2 separate regions of the Homo sapiens genome follow, and region 1 is linked to region 2. The links are contacts of gene promoters, found by promoter capture Hi-C in human tissues and cell types (Jung and others, 2019). All regions are on one chromosome and are shown on one strand. The core of a region is centred on a gene start or on the middle of the fragment in contact, and the rest is flanking DNA. Distances in the headings are between cores, read along the strand shown.

Evidence for each region. The method cuts DNA at HindIII sites, captures the fragments that hold promoters and counts their contacts. A contact is called where the count stands out against the background at its distance.
Region 1: a fragment that was not itself captured here is called in contact with the fragment with the promoter of UBL4B in region 2 in 2 of the 25 tissues and cell types used here (heart right ventricle and thymus).

What each region holds. Positions count from the first base shown.
Region 1 is chr1:110,364,495-110,369,967 of GRCh38, reverse strand. All of the region lies in intron 8 of SLC16A4 (solute carrier family 16 member 4), which reads left to right. Among named protein-coding and RNA genes, the nearest start is that of SLC16A4, 24 kb to the left of the region's middle. The HindIII fragment of the contact is 7,024 bases long and covers 113-5,473 here.
Region 2 is chr1:110,109,067-110,114,118 of GRCh38, reverse strand. It overlaps UBL4B (ubiquitin like 4B), which reads right to left and starts at 1,676. Exons shown (of 1, transcript NM_203412.2): 1 at 172-1,676. The coding sequence starts at 1,584. The coding sequence ends at 1,060. LINC01397 (long intergenic non-protein coding RNA 1397) reads right to left here. Exons shown (of 4, transcript NR_126382.1): 3 at 4,706-4,820; 4 at 4,400-4,514. The HindIII fragment of the contact is 14,264 bases long and covers 1-5,052 here.

The DNA of each region.
Region 1 (5,473 bases), core at 2,375-4,874, 250 kb before region 2:
TCCTAGTAAATCTTATTGCAAATTTCTATCAAGGAAACTTTACTGAGTTCCCATCTTAAAAGGCCCTGAAATTTAAATTTGCTAAGCCAAGTTTCCCAAGATTTTTCCGATCATGGCACATATAGAAAATATTTGCACAATACACCCAAAGTAAAAGAACAAGATTGCCAATAGCCAGCTGGTGGCTCCAGTGGCCCCAGGGATGAGAGGAAAATTGTCTTTGCACACCTTGGAAATTTGCCACTATGCTACAACCCAACCACAGGAGTTCTGATTCAACTCTGACCAGTCACCTGCAGAATTTTCAACCACTTTAGAACTAGCACCAAGAAACTTTGGAATTAAGGACCTTCTAAGTTTTTTGTTTGTTTTTTGTTTTGAGATGGAGTCTCCCTCTGTCACCCAGGCTGGAGTGCAGTGGTGCAATCTTGGCTCACTTATCCAGGTTCAAGTGATTCTCCCACCTCAGCCTCCTGAGTAGCTGGGACTACAGGCGTGTGCCACCATGCCTGGCTAATTTTTTCTATTTTTAGTAGAGATGGGATTCACCATTTTGCCCAGGCTGGTCTCGAACTACTGAGCTCAAGCAATCCGCCCACATCGGCCTCCCAAAGTGCTGGGATTACAGGTGTGAGCCACTGCACCCGGCCATGTTAAGTTTCAATAAGATGACCAATAGTAAACTTACATAGTAATCCTAATAAAAATGATTCATGACTGGGCACAGTGGCTCACGCCTGTAATCCCAGCACTTTGGGAGGCTGAGGCAGGTAGATCACGAGGTCAAGAGTTCAAGACCAGCTTGACCAACATAGTGAAACCCCGTCTCTACTAAAAATACAAAAATTAGCTGGGCGTAGTGGTGTGCACCTGTAATCCCAGCTACTTGGGAGGTTGGGGCAGGAGAATCGCTTAAACCCAGGAGGAGGAGGTTGCAGTGAGCCGAGATTGCACCACTGCATTTCAGCCTGGGCGACAGGGCGAGACTCCATCTCAAAAAAAAAAAAAAAAGATTCATAACTTAGCTTAACAATCAAGTTCTGAGATTCTGAGATGTCTGAAGGTATGAATACTTTTTAGACAGGATGCTAAATTCCTTTTGAAACATGTATGGCCTAACACATAAAATAATGTGGAATAGTTTTAAAATATTAACACTTAAAAAATGAGTTCAGAATCCTATATTAAATATCTAACTTGAATGATTATTCTTATTCCTTTTTAACTGACTGTAAAAAAAATGGTTTGCACCAGTATTTAAAGAAGCTCAGCCCAATCTTCCTATTTGTTTTAAATTATCACAGGAAACATTACTAGACATTTCTGCCTAAAACAAGTCCTATAGCCATAGATATAAGAAAAGAGTCTGGACTAGTAACTTCAAATACAATAATTATTATTGTTAAATAATAATTTTACTGTGCGTAAGAATCAACTGAGTGCCACCCAGGATGGAGTTATGCTTGACAGAATCCAGTGAATCTGCATTATTAACATGCATCTCAGGTAAATCTGACGCAGGTAGCCTGTAGACACCAAGGAAATGCTTACAGAGGTCTTCAGCTTAATAATTCTGCATCAGCTGCCAGTTTATTCCTCAGAGTGCTGGCTACATACAGTAATACCAGGCATAGAGTGAACATTCAGATACATGCACATTATCCTAGATTATAACTGGTATGTAATCTTGTCTTTCTCTGACGTTCACAATGCTTATGCTATGACCACAAAGGAATCTAGTCTTTTGAATGTCAACTTATGTGTGTGCTTCCATTTAAAATGGTGAGAATACAGTGGCTTCTGAACTATCAACAATACTTTCTTTTAAAAATATTTACTTGGCTGGGCGCAGTGGCTCACGCCTGTAATCCCAGCACTTTGGGAGGCCGAGGCGGGCAGATCACGAGGTCAGGAGATCGAGACCATCCTGGCTAACATGGTGAAACCCTGTCTCTACTAAAAATACAAAAAATTAGCCGGGCACGGTGGCGGACGCCTATGGTCCCAGCTACTCGGGAGGCTGAGACAGGAGAATGGTGTGAATCCGGGAGGCGGAGCTGGGAGTGAGTGGAGATTGCGCCACTGCACTCCAGCCTGGGCAACAGAGTGAGATTCCTCTCAAAAAAAACAAAAATTTACTTAGAAGCATTAAACCGTTTAGGGTCCGAAGTGCATCTGAACAGATTTTTCATCCTGTTACCAAAAAAATACAGAGATCTAATAAAATCAGACACTCGTTCTCTCTCCCTATATATATATATTTTAAATTTTTGAGACAGGCTCTCCCTCTGTTGCCCAGGCTGGAGGGCAGTGACACAATCACAGCTCACTGTAGCCTCAACCTCCTGGGCTCAAGTGATCCTCCCAACTCAGCCTCCTGAGTAGCTGGGACTACAGGCATGTGCCATGACACCTGGCTTTTTTTTCTTTAACTTTTTCTTTATTCTTTTCCAATATTTTTCTAAATTTAATTTTAATTTTTGATAGAATAGGGACAAAGTCTGACTGTGTTGCCCAGGCTGGTCTTGAACTCCTAAGCTCAAGTCATCCTTCTACCTTGGCCTCCCAAAGTGCTAAGATTATAGGCATGAGCCGTCACGCCTGGCCAACACCCAGCTAATTTATTACTTCTTTTTTGTAGAGATAGGGTCTCACCACATTGCCCAGTCTGGCCTTGAACTCTTGGGCTCAAGTGATCTGCCTGCCTTGGCCTTCCAAAGTGCTAGGATTACAGGCATGAGCCACTGTGCCTGGCCAATCCTTTTACTTTCAGCAGTAGAGAATGGCTAGTTATTCCAATCAAATAAAGTAGATGTTTCAATAGCAACGAAGCTCAAAACTTAACTAACCTAGTAGCCACTTAAATATAAGCTTGATTTTAACAACTAATACTTTCATAAAATAATCAGTCATATGTATATTTCTGCATCCTACATTTTACCTCATATTTGCTAGTATAAACAGCATCCTAAAACTAAATACTCAGCTGTATACTATTATCCTATTGAATGGCAATTGGATCTTAATTTAGAATCTAAAAAATACAAATATCTCAATGATCAAATATGACTGGGAGAAACAAATTTACAACAATTATTTCATCCAGGTTTTATTTCACCTAATTTTGCATGGAAATACATAGAAATAATTCTAAAACATGCTAAACAATTCCCCGCCCTGGTAAGAAAATATATTAAATATAGTCATGAGTTATTTAACAGGGATACATTCTGAGAAATGTGTTAGATGATTTCATTGTCATATGAACAGTATACCTACACACACCTAGGCTATATGGTAGAGCCTATTGCTCCTAGGCTACAAATCTATACAGCATGTTACTGTGCTGAGTACTGTAGGCAACTGTATCTAAACATAGAAAGATACTCGTGTATCCAAACAAAGTATTCATGTATCTAAACATAGATACAGTAAAAATGCATATCATAACCTCATGAGGTTTGTCCTGTTATGTGCCACATGACTATATTTTAATACTTAATGTTTCAGAAACAGCATTCTAAGAGTGAGTGAAATCCAAGCACTTTAGAAGGCTGAGGCAGGCGGATCACCTGAGATCAGGAGTTTGAGACCAACCTGGCCAACATGGCGAAACCCCATCTCTACTAAAAATACAAAAAAATGAGCCGGGTGTGGTGGTAGGCACCTATAATCCCAGCAACTCATGAGGCTGAGGCAAGAGAATCACTTGAACCTGCGGGTCGGAGGTTGCAGTGAGCCGAGATTGCGCAACTCACTCCAGCCTGGGCAACAGAGCGAGGCTCTGTCTCAAAAAACAAAAAAAAAAGTGAGTGAGTGAGAGAGAGAGAAAGAGTGTGTGTGTGTGTGTGTGTGTGTGTGTGTGTAAAATGAAAGGCTTGGTCGGCATGATGGCTCACACCTGTAATCCCAGCACTTTGGGAGGCCAATGCAGGAGGATGACTTGGGGCCAGGAATTTGAGACTAGCGTGGGTAACTTAGATCCAGTCTCTACAAGAAATTTTAAAAAAAGAAAAGAAAAGAAAGAAAAGGCTTATAAACAGTTTTTCTCTTCAATCCATTTTTACTATTTTTAGCTGTGCTATCTGACATTTTAGTAGCACTGTCTACCTTTTTGTCCAAGAATTCCTAGTCTTTCCCCAGGGTGTTACTTCTGAGACCACTATTTTATAATTCACAGGTTTTATATATACACATATACATACACAGACACATACACTCTAATACATTTGCTGTGTTGGCAGGACTAAGGCAAGAATGACAAGGGATGGGAGGGTAAGGACTGCTACCTTCTATACTCCTTCCTTTCTAGAAATGTCTACAAGAGTTCAGAGACTAGTCACCTATTTCTTAGAGATCTATAGGTCAATAACAATCAACATAACACAAAGACTTGTCCAGTTGTTTTCACTCCAGTAACTCCAAGAAACATTTAATAGAGGTCACTAATCAAACAGGAGTCAGTAAGTAAAAAGCAACTTAAAGTTAGTTGAACTTAAGAGGTTATAAAACATTCTATTCACTTATTTTTTACATTAACAATAGGAAACACAGAGCTATAAAACAAAAATAAATTAAGTCAATTTTTTCTGGTCTGCTTGTCTCATCTCCTCTGTGTCCATAACAGAACAAAGAGGAGATGAAACAAGCAGACCAGAAGAAAAAGGTGGGGGAGGGTATACTCTACATATCCAGTGAGGCATCATGATCTAAGATAGAAGGGAAAAATCAAAGACACAATGTAAGCTCCATGAGGGCAGATATTTTCATCTATTTTGTTCAGGGGTATATCCCTGAAACCCAGACCTGTGCTGCCATACAGCACTGAAATTTCTTGAATAAGTGATCAGATATAATATACATACTATACTTTGGAAAAGAACTTCTCAAAGTGAGGTCAACAGACCCCCAGAGATCCTTGAGACCCTTTAGGAAGTCCAGGAGGCCAAAATTATTGTCATGATAATACTAAGGACATTATTTGCTTTTTTCAGTGTTGACTTTTGCAATGATGTGCCTTAGCATAAATATTCTTTGCTATCACCTACTCAGTTAAAAAAAAAAAAGAAAAAAAAGTGTTTCGCTTAAGTTTTAGTATGTGCCATTAGCCAAAAGACTTTGAAGACCCTCCAACTTATGCTTTTAAAAAGCACTTAGGACCAGGTGCAGTGGCTCACGCTTATAATCCCAGCACTTTGGGAGGCCGAGGTAGGCGGATCACTGGAGGTCAGGAGTTCAAGACCACCCTGGCCAACATGGCGAAACTCCGTCTCTACTAAAAACACAAAAATTAGCCGGGTGTGGTGGCGGGCACCTGTAATCCCAGCTACTTGGGAGGCTGAGGCAGGAGAACTGCTTGAACCCAGGAGGTGGAGGTTGCAGTAAGCAAAGCAGAGATCGTGCCACTACACCACTCCAACCTGGGTGACAGAGCAAGCCTCTGTCTCAAAAAAAAAAAAAAAAAAAAAGCATT
Region 2 (5,052 bases), core at 427-2,926:
TCCCACTCACACACAGAGTGTGGGGACTCCTCAGCCTCTGCAAGGGCCACTCTCTCACTCAAAGAACAGAGTAAAGGGCCTGGCTTTCCTCGTAGTCTGCAGGGGACTGGCCCCTCTATGCTGAACCCAGGGCCCCGTGAGGCCCCGTGCATTCAGTCACACACACTAGACTCTAGTTTCATGTCACCACTTTACTTTTCACATGTATAGCAGCTCTCTGCATCTAGGCTGCGTGCTCTGTGAGGGCAAGGATCCTCATTGACAGATACCATTTTTCCTTCCAGGGAGCCTTGGGCAGCGCTGGGCAGGTAATGTGAGCTGTGATACCTACTGACTGATCAGTCTGGGAGGGTGGGGCATGGCTCTGTTCACGCTGGCCACAGGGAGTGTATGACTTTGCTGAACTTTTTTTCTGCCTGAGGCTCAGTTTCCTGCTATTCTTGGTCTGTGTCTGTCTCCCTGAGGGCTCCAGGGCTGGCACCCGGTACGTGCCCTCCTCCCACTCTCACCTCTGCTGTGCCTGTCCCTTAAGCTGGAAGCACAAGCAGGAGAACAGCAGGGGCAGCCTCACCCAGAAGGCAAGGGGCAGCTACCTGACATTCCTCTCCTCTTGGCTGCTGGGGAGCCTAGGGGAGATGTCACGGTCTGAGGATGGAGGAAAATGAACTCACATTGTCTTTCTGTCCCGAAGGAGAAAGAGGGTCTGCCTAGAACCATGGAGACCCTGGGCCAGGGCTGCTTTCAGCCTGGGGAGCTGCTGGGTATGTGTGGGCAAAGCTGCCAGCACAGGAGGGGACTGTGGCCTTTGGGGCTGCCCTCCGGTGATCAGAACCCTTCTAGGGGAAGCATGGTGATGAGGGTTGGTTCACTCTGCATTTCAGAGGGAGGACCTCAGGCCCAAGAGGGGACAGGGATCCAAAAACCCTCCAGCTGCTTGGAAGGTTCAAAAAGGGGTGTGGACGCATCCACATCAGCAGGAAGTAGTAGGAAAAGTCACCAGGGAACACGTAAGGATGAGGCCGGGAGAATTTTAGCATGCAAATGGGTAGGATGGCCCGTTTACTGATCAGCTGCTGCCTCCTCCTTCTCCTCCATGTCACAGGAGCTCTGAGGCCGTGCCTTCGCCTCAAGCTCCCTCTCTCCAGCTGGCTCCACGTGAGGCTCCTCTGCCAGGAGGTACTGGGCCAGCTGCTCCAGGTGCTCCAGGCTTATCTTCTGCAGGCGCTCCTCGTGCTCCTGCCTTAGCAGCTGCAGCACGGCCTTGGCATCCTGTGGTTCAAAGTGTTTAGCTAGGACCAGTCCCAGCTGGTGCCACAGGGGCTGGGTCTGCGGCTGGTGGGCCTCCTTTAGCGCCATCTTCTCCAAGGGCTGCATGATGACATTGATAGAGGCATTGGGCCCAATGCAGTAGTCAGAGAGGTGCTTGTCATCCTCCAGGAGCTGGCCACGGAAAAGCAGGTGCTGCTGCTCCTCAGGCACCTTCAGCCGCCTGGACACCAGTCTCTTCAGCGTGGCTACACTCTCTTGCCCTGACACCTTCAGACTGCATCTCTGGCCCAGGAGCAGCTTGACTGTGAGGAACATCGGGCTGAGTGGAATCAGGAGGGATCCATGCTCTGGGAGCTGCCCTGAAGATTAGGGGGTCCTGCGGGAGATGTTGGCTTCTCCCTATCAACAAAGGGCTAGTAGTCCCAGGAGACCAGGGACCCAGCTTAGGCAGGCAGCCATTGGCTAGTGCACGGTGATGTCACAATGCTGCGGGGGGGCTCATTTCCAGAGTGGAACTTTTGGGACAGCAAAGGGGTATTTGGGCCCAGAGCATCCTTCCTCCACGAGAGGAGAAAAAGAGCACTAGGAAAGAAAATGTGGGACTGGGGGAAATGAGAGTGAGACTAGGGAAAGGGAGGGAGGGAAAGGACAGGGTGGTGGGAGGAGCATGTCTATTGATTTCTTCAACACATGTGTATTAGGTGCCACCTCTGTGCCAGCACCTGGACCTGGGGAGACAGTCATATTCAGATGGATGACTTCTGCCTTCATGACACTTTCACACTAGTGAGCTGGCTAGCATTTATCAAGCGTCCTCTTTCTGTCAAGCACTTTACACGCTCTTTTGGATTGGGCTTTCCAGCAGCAGACACTGAGACAGGGATTTGAGAACAAGTACTCAATTAGGAGGTGATCCCAGGAGGCACCAGGAGGGGAGTGAGGATGTGAGATGAGGACGGGAGGGAAATCAAAACGTGCATTCATGAGCAGGTTGCCATTGTGGGCAACTAGTATGTTATCCTGCTGGGGAGTTCTGGGAGGTTGCATGGAACACACCTGAGTTGCACCAGGTGTGGTTTTTTTGTTTTTTTTTTTGTTTTTTGAGACAGGGTCTCACTCTGTTGCCCAGGCTGGAGTGCAGTGGCATGATCTCGGCTCACTGCAACCTCCGTTTCCTGGGTTCAAGTAATTCTCCTGTGTCAGCCTCCCAAGTAACTGGGGCTACAGCTGCACGCCACCATGCCTGGCTAATTTTTGTATTTTTAGTAGAGATGGGTTTCTCCATGCTGCCCAGGCTGATCTCAAACTCCCAGACACAAGCAATCTGCCTGCTTTGGCCTCCCAAAGTGCTGAGGTTACAGGCGTGAGCCACCGCACCTGGCCGAACCTGCATCTTTATGCTCTGACTCCTGTCTTTGGCTAATAGAAGTGCTACCTCCTTGGCACTTCTGGTCCACAGGTGTTAAGCAGCATGCTCCTGTGACCACAGAAAAGTAGGAAGCCATCGGGCCCTCAGGAATGTGAGTGCTGAGGGGATGGGGCAGGACAGCCCACAGCATCTGCATCACAGGCCTGCCTAATTGAATCCTCTCAACCTATGAGGCAGGCACTGCCATGATCTCCATCTGCCAGAGGAGAAAGTGGAGGCTTGGCTGATCCTACAGCAAGCAGGCAGAATTGCTCTTGTCTTCACTGTTACCTCATGTTGCCTCCTAAACAAATCTCTGCTCAGTGCCTTTTGTGGCCCAGGCCCTGAGCAGGCACCCCCGGCTCAAAGGTGAATATGAAAAAGGACACTGATTGGGCCTCCTCTGTGTCTGCAACTTCTGCAGCATTTGGCAGTTTTCAGTGCAACACATTGCTGAAGGCCTTCTGGGTCAAGCCCTTTATATATGTTGTCACAATTTAGCCTGGGAGGAAAGTATTGTCTCATTTTAGAACTGAGCAACTTTGGAGAAGACCTGAATAACGTCTCGCAGCCAGTGGGCTGATTTTGTCAGGGATCCCCTCAACTCTCACCAGCTCTGTGCTCGACTGTGCCCTTCTTCTCACTCACCTTCTCCCTCCCTCCCACCTAACCTCCTTTCCTTTTCCACCTGCCTGGAAGCTACAGTGGCATGATGCTGTTGTCAACATCCTTGGACTTTCCTGAACTGCCCTTCCACAGCACCCAGCCCTGAACTCCGCCCAAAGGTGGCTGCAAGCTCTGTCCCTGTCTTTGGAAGCTGGCAGCCAAGAGCAGCTGGTGAAGATACCCATGGGGCCGGGCGCGGTGGCTCATGCCTGTAATCCTAGCACTTTGGGAGGCTGAGGCGGGCAGATCGTGAGGTCAGGAGTTCAAGATCAGCCTGACCAACATGGTAAAACCCCGTCTCTACTAAAAATACAAAAATTAGCCGGGCGTGGTGGCGCGCACCTAATATCCCAGCTACTCGGGAGGCTGAGGAAGGAGAATCGCTTGAAACCGGGAGGCAGATGTTGCAGTGAGCCGAGATCACTCCACTGCACTCCAGCCTGGGTGACAGAACGAGACTCTGTCTCAGAAAAAAAAAAAAAGAAGAAGAAGAAAAGAAATATCCATAGATGCCACAGACTCAGCAAGCCCTCACCCCTCACCCCAGCCCCATGTTCACTCTTGCCGGGTGACTCATATTCTAGTCCATAGGGAAACTAGAGCTCACAAGTCAGGAATTCCCTGACCTTCCGTCCCTTCCTCACTTCCTTCCTCCTCTCCTTTCCCCCACTAAATGAGCCCCCTTGTTATTTCCCTTCTTCCCTGAAAATGTCTCCGAAACCCACTCCTCCTCCTCTGCATCCCCACTGCCCACCGGTTCAGGCTGTCAACTCCCTCCAGCCCATAGTTCATCTCCTCCACCAGTCCCACCGCCTTGGGTCCATTCATACCACAGCCAAGGGGATCTTCCCAAAATAAAAGCAAGGTTGTGTACTCCTCTGAGTAACACCATCCAGTTTAGTTTCCTCTGCTTTTGGAATCAAAACTGACCTCCTTGGCCGGGCTCTGCTTGTCACCCAGCCTCGTGCCTCCCCACTTGGCATCCTCCACCGTAGCCACACCAGTCTGCGTTTCCTCTACTTGCTTGTCCTATTTGAACTCTTCCAACTCATCCTTCAAAACTCAGGTTAATGCATGCCTATAGTCCCAGCTACTTTGGAAACCAAGGCAGAAAGATAGCTTGAGCTGAGGAGTCCAAGACCAGCCTGGACAACATAAGAAGATCTTGCCTCTAAAAAAAAAAAAAAAAAAAAAAAAAGAAAGAAAGAAAAAAGAAAAGAAAAAAAAAAGAAAGAAAAAGAAAGAAAAAAATTCAGGTTGAAAATCACCTCCTCCATGAAGGCTTCTTTGCTCTCCCCAGCCCTGGGAAGAGATAATCCCACCTCCCTCCATGCAACCATTGCTCCCCTTGAACTTACTTACGTGAATGCATCTAGCACACCTCATTAGCTCTCAGAGACTGGGACTAGGTCTTCTCTGCCTTTGTGTCCCACGCTTCCAACACAAGCCTGGTACACAGAATGCCTTGAATACCCGCCTGTCAAATGAAGAAGATAAAATTGAGACACATTGAGCCATCCAGGGGCATGCAGGGCAGGTCCAGTGCAGCAGGCTGTGGAAAGACATAAACCCGCCTGCAGCCTCTCTCTCACCCCCACCTCCTGCCCTAGAGAGATGAAAATACAAAATTACATAAAAAATCAATCAGAAAGTGAGGCCAGTCTTTACCAAAGGATCTTCTATAGCATTTCTTTAAATAGCCAGCTCCC